2 separate regions of the Homo sapiens genome follow, and region 1 is linked to region 2. Evidence: promoter capture Hi-C in 16 types of primary human blood cells and fetal thymus (Javierre and others, 2016). All regions are on one chromosome and are shown on one strand. The core of a region is centred on a gene start or on the middle of the fragment in contact, and the rest is flanking DNA. Distances in the headings are between cores, read along the strand shown. Region 1 has its middle 24 kb from the start of SLC16A12. Region 2 holds the start of IFIT2 (interferon induced protein with tetratricopeptide repeats 2).

What was found. The method cuts DNA at HindIII sites, captures the fragments that hold promoters and counts their contacts. A CHiCAGO score of 5 or more calls a contact.
Region 1: a fragment that was not itself captured here is called in contact with the fragment with the promoter of IFIT2 in region 2 in 9 of 17 cell types (total CD4 T cells, total CD8 T cells, naive B cells and 6 more); the score reaches 13.0 in total CD4 T cells.

Annotation. Positions count from the first base shown.
Region 1 is chr10:89,557,812-89,560,810 of GRCh38, forward strand. No RefSeq gene overlaps it. Among named protein-coding and RNA genes, the nearest start is that of SLC16A12, 24 kb to the left of the region's middle. RefSeq lists an enhancer at 1,058-1,582. The HindIII fragment of the contact is 177 bases long and covers 1,621-1,797 here.
Region 2 is chr10:89,300,335-89,303,350 of GRCh38, forward strand. It overlaps IFIT2 (interferon induced protein with tetratricopeptide repeats 2), which reads left to right and starts at 1,712. Exons shown (of 2, transcript NM_001547.5): 1 at 1,712-1,794. The coding sequence starts at 1,790. It overlaps LOC105378419 (a long non-coding RNA gene), which reads right to left and starts at 1,569. Exons shown (of 3, transcript NR_188200.1): 1 at 952-1,569. It also overlaps a transcript of LIPA not described here. RefSeq lists an enhancer at 1,420-1,739. The HindIII fragment of the contact is 3,117 bases long and covers 1-1,998 here.

The sequences.
Region 1 (2,999 bases), core at 459-2,958, 260 kb after region 2:
ATTAAGAGTGTGGTCCGGGGCCGGGCGCAGTGGCTCACCTCTGTAACCCCAGCGCTTCGGGAGGCCAAGGCAGGCAGATTACCTGAGGCCAGGAGTTCGAGACCAGCCTGGAAAACATGGTGAAACCCCATCTCTACTAAAAATACAAAAATTAGCTGGGTGTGGTGGCACATGCCTGTAGTCCCATCTACTCGGGAGGCTGAGGCAGGAGACTCGCTTGAACTAGGGAGGTGGAGGTTGCAGTGAGCTGAGATCATACCACTGCACTCCAGCCTGGGTGACAGGGCGTGACTCCACCTCAAAAAAAAAAAAAAAAAGAATGTAGTCCACGGCCAGGCACAGTGGCTCATGCCTGTAATCCCAGCACTTTGGGAGGCTGAGGCAAGCGGATCACTTGAGGTCAGGAGTTTGAAACCAGTCTGGCCAACATGGTGAAACCTCATCTCTACGAAAAATCCAAAAATTAGCTGGGCATGGTGGCAGGCGCCTGTAATCCCAGCTACTCAGGAGGCTGGGCAGGAGAATCGCTTGAATTTTGGAGGCAGAGGTTGCAGTGAGCTGAGATTGTGCCACTGCACTCCAGCCTGGGCGACAGAGCGAGACTCTGTCTCAAAAAAAAAAAAAAAATAGTGTGTGGTCCGGGTCGTGGCATTCACGCAGCAACCTGAAGGAGGCAGGGGAGTGTGGCTGTGGTCATCTGGAGGGAAAGCACGGAAAAGGAGAAAGGGGCAAAATGAAGGCACCCTGAGTTTGGAGTGTGCTTGGTATACTTGAGGAAACACAAGGAGGCTGATGCGACTGGAACAGATGAACTAGGGCAGAAGTTCAAATTCTACTCAAAAAAAGAAGTGGAATTAGAGCAAGGGCAACAGCTAACCCAGATAATGATGTCTGCTGAAACTATCTCTTGGGGTCGTCTCCTACAGCTGCCCAAGGCAATGTTACTCCCTATTACACCGCTCAGTTGCGGTGTCCTTTATCTCGTGTGGTGAAAATTAGCGACGTGGACACACGTGGAGTGGATTAAGGGGTAGAAAGTTTAATAGGCAAGAAAGGAGAGAATAGCTCCCCGTACAGAGGGAGGAGGGCTCTGAACCGAAAACCCGCGTGCAGAGGAAAGCAGTGGTTTATATTGGGAGGCTGGAGGAGGTGGTGTCTAATTAGCATAGGGCACAGGGGATTGGTTTAACCACGTGTGTCATTCAGGTAGCCCCCCCAAAAAAACTGGCCCTCCCACCCTAGCCTTTTATTATGCAAATGCGGCTACCTGGCTGGTCGCCATGACACCTGTACACGTGGCAACAAAGAAAAAGTAGCAGGAACCGCCATATTGGCTGGACCTGACTCTTAACCATCTGCATTTGCATATCAATACTTGCAGGTCTGGTTTTTCAGGCTGCTTTCTGTTAGATAATAAATATTTGGGGGACCGCTTTTTTATTAAACGAAAAAGACTTACTGAGGACTCTTTTACCCTCTCTAGCTGCCTAAAATAATTTCTTAATAACTCCTGTAATACCTACATATAGAACCTTTTACAGTTCTCCAAATAGATTGTGTTCTTCACCCTTCCACGCCATCTCTGTCTACCTAAGCGGACTCCTTTTATACTTCAAGTCAAGCTTAATTATGGCCTTCTCTGGAAAACTGCCCCCCATCCTGATTAGACAAGCATGCCCTCGTAGCACCTTGTCACCCTATGCACAACCCTATCCTAGTGTCTATTGCATTGCATTGTAGCTGGTGCTTTACTTCTCTACCTTGCCCACCAGACAGCAAGCCTCTTGAGGACAAGAAAGCTTTTTCTTTCTGTCTCGGTATCCATAGTACTTAAATACTTATATAGACACAACAGATAATTAGGAAATGTTTACTGAATGAATAAATAGCATTGGCAATCACTCATAAAAACGCCAAGTCAGATTTTAGTACCCCCTTAGCATACTTGCACATGATACCTACTAGCAATCCTGAAGGGTCACTAGATGCCAGGCAATGCACTGAATTAGGCGGTTGTTGGTTACTATTCATTATCTTCCAACAACCCTACAAATTAGATGTTATTATTCCCATCTTTAAATGTAAGAAAAATAAAATTGGGCAGGTTAAATAGCATATGTCACCACCTAGACCCAGGATTTTAATTTAGTCTCTCTAAATCCCAAACTACACCAAGCTGTAAGTCAGAAAAATGTAAATGAGGAACAGCTTATGGTACACTTAAAAAAATTATTTGATAAAAATCTGTTAGAGATTTACAGAAAACTTTTCACACTGTATTTACATTGCTTGACTTCATTATGGATTTTCAAGGAAGAATGATTGAAGGCCAACTCAATCATTCAGCCACAGTGAAGAGTTTGGCATAATTTGAAACAAAGGAATACATATGGGAAGCATCTAGAACTGAGTGAAATGGTGGCAAAGAAGACATGGACCTATACAAATATTACTAATTGGGAAAACACTTATAAACCACTGTAGGGTTTCTACATTGTTGAATGCTATCCCAATTTTTTAATACATGACATAGAACAATATTTACATACATGTACACTGAAAATAGATCCAAAGGGTATAAAACAAAATGTTTTGGTTATTTCTGAGTTATATAATTTTTTTTTCTGTGCTTGTCCACATTTACTAAAATCTCCACAATTAAAAAAAAAAAAATCCATGATGAGCTGGGAGTCGTGGCGCACACCTGTGGTCCCAGCTACTTGAGAGGCTGAGGAAAGATGATCACTTTGGCCCGGGAATTTGAGGCCAGCCTGGGCAATATAGCGAGACCCCATCTTTAAAAATTAAAAAAGTAAAAAAATAAAAAGTTTGTAATAAAACTTATAACAAGAAAATGAACCTAGTTAAAAAATAAAAAGAAGATCTGAATAGACACTTCACCAAAAATGATATACAGATAGCAAATAAGGCATTGAAAAGACGCTTGATATCACATGTTGTTAGGGAATTGCATATTAAAACAATGAGATACCACTACA
Region 2 (3,016 bases), core at 462-2,961:
TCTAATGTTTGATAGCCGACTAGGGTGACTATACTTAGCAACAATATTATGTATATTTTAAAGTAACTAGAAGAGAGGACTTTAAATGATACCAACACATAAAAATGATAAACACTGAAGGTGATACATACCCCAATTACCCTGACTTGATCATTAAACATTCTTTGCACGTAACAAACACTCACATGCAACTCATAAATATGTAAATTATTATACATCAATAAAAAGGGGGAAAATATTGTGGGGCTTGGGGAAGCCAAGAACATAAGGAGATGTTAGGAATTGTTTGGCTTAGGTCAGTAATTGTGATGGATTGTTGAATGTCAGAGGAGATAAAGTTCTGGAAAAAGCCAACATTGAAATTTCCCCTGGCCGGGCGTGGTGGCTCACGCCTGTAATCCCAGAACTTTGGCAGGCCAAGGCGGGCAGATCACCTGAGATCAGGAGTTCGAGACCAGCCTGGCCAACATGGTGGAACCCCATCTCTACTAAAAATACAAAAATTAGCCGGGCGTGGTGGTGCGTGCCTGTAATCCCAGCTACTCGAGAGGCTGAGGCGAATCACTTGAACCAGGGAGGTGGAGGTTGCAGTAAGCCAGGATCTTTCCACTGCACTCCAGCCTGAAAAAAAGAGTTTCCCCTCTGATCACTTTGGTTAACGATTTTAGTTAATAATTATAATAGAAACTAGCATTTACTTATTACTGCCAGGCATTATTCTAAGGACATTTCACGTATTCTCTCATTTCATCCTCCCAACACCACAATAAACCAGTAGTTGTATTATTCCCAATTTACAAAACCGAAGCAGAGACATTCAATAATTTTCCCCAGAGTTTCATAGCATAAAGGTGGAAGCTGATTTCAAATCCAGATAGACAGACATCACTGCCCATGCTTCTAATCATGTATTCATTTAGTCAACAACTACTTTTGGAATGCTTGCCATACCATGCAATGTGCAGGTTGTTTTGCAGGGACTGGAGATTCAGCAATGATTCAGACTAAAATCCCCTGCCCTGTCGAGGCTAAATAACTGCTCCTTACAGTGGCCTGTGGATCATATTGGTATAAGGCAGAGCAAAGATGGGTTAATATGGTAATCACAAGGCAGGGAGCTTTGTAAATGTGTCCTCCTAGGAGTTGTGCTCCCTTGATGCCATCAGTACATTCCACAAAGAGGAAGTTCTTCTAACTCACTACGCAGCTGGGCTTGGCTCTTACTCAAGAGCATTTTGGGGTGAAAATATCTAAGTTTACCAGCCCTTGTGCAAATCTGAGATGAAGGACTACATTAAAAGTAAAATTCACCTTAGCAGGAAGTGGGGTTTGCTATTCTGTGTATATCTTTAACAGTATCTGCTGAAAAGAACCCTTTTGTTAAATAATTGTATTACAAGTCCCCAACTTAATCTTTTCGAATATGAAATAAGAGAGGGACAGTGCACAAGAGCAATGTCCCCAGACCCATCTTTAAGTGAAGCACCAGGCCGATGAAACATCCCTCTCTGCTGCCTTCTTTCTCTGATCACAACTCAGCTCCGGAGGAAAAAGAGTCCTCTAAAGTATAATAAAAAGAAAAAAAGAAAAAGAGTCCTGCCAATTTCACTTTCTAGTTTCACTTTCCCTTTTGTAACGTCAGCTGAAGGGAAACAAACAAAAAGGAACCAGAGGCCACTTGTATATATAGGTCTCTTCAGCATTTATTGGTGGCAGAAGAGGAAGATTTCTGAAGAGTGCAGCTGCCTGAACCGAGCCCTGCCGAACAGCTGAGAATTGCACTGCAACCATGAGGTAAATATTTTCCCTTCGTATTCGGTAGTGCTGTTGAGTCATCTTGTCCAATGCAAATCCTGAGAAGCTATGTTCCCAAAGAGGGCCAGCTCCATTTTAGTGTTTGTTTATAGCCTTACTATGCCTCTACCTCTGTTGGTTGTAAATCTGTCTTACCAATGGTGGTTTGTTCCCTCCTGAACAATTTTCTGCTTCACACTGGCAAGCTTCCTAAATTCATCTCCAGAACTGCACGCCTGGGGAGTTGAGTTGCAATCAGAGAAAGAAGGCAGCAGAGAGGGATGATGTTTCATCGGCCTGGTGCTTCACTTAAAGATGGGTCTGGGGGCATTGCTCTTGTGCACTGACCCTGTCTTATTTCATATTTGAAAGGATTAAGTTGGGGACTTGTAATACAATTATTTAACAAAAGGGTTCTTTTCAGCAGATACTGTTAAAGATATACACAGAATAGCAAACCCCACTTCCTGCAAAGGTGAATTTTACTTTTAATGTAGTTCTTCATCTCAGATTTGCACAAGGGCTGGTAAACTTAAATATTTTCACCCCAAAATGCCTCCTGAGTATGAATTAGAGATGGAGTGCTTGGAGAAAATAGTTCTGTTCTCACCTCTAACATTCCCTTCTATCCCCAAAACATGAGACTGCCCTGGAGAGGAAGTGTTAGCTCATTGAATAGGAAGGGAAATATTTTCTCCAGTTTGAAGGTGGGGTGGCCGGACCTGGTTGCCTAACCCTCATCCTGGGAGCTCTGGAATCCCGTGTTACCAACCCCTGTGCTTACTTCCTATGAGACACCTTGCCCTCTGTCTGTGAGGTTCCTGATTTCTCTTCTTGAAACGATATTATTTCCTGCTAGTCTAAATGTTCTGCCTGATTTCAAAAAAAAAAAAAAAGATTTGAGATATTTACAGATTTCTTTTTTTTGTAGTCACCCAGAATCTATAGAACCCTTTTCTTATTTCTTAGAATTTTAGCATGGTCTTATCTTAGAATTTTTCCCATTACAATACAGACCCATCTGTCCTTTCTTTCCTTAATTCTTTATCTATTGTGACTTTCACTGGGCATTGCCCTTGTGCCCTAAGACAGTGGTTCTCAAAATTGAGCATGCATAAAAATTGCCTGGACAGCTTATTAAGGACAGAGTCCTAGGGTTGACTCCCCAGAGATTCTCATTAAGTGGGTCTGGGTTAGAGTCTGAGGATGTGTGTTTCTAAAA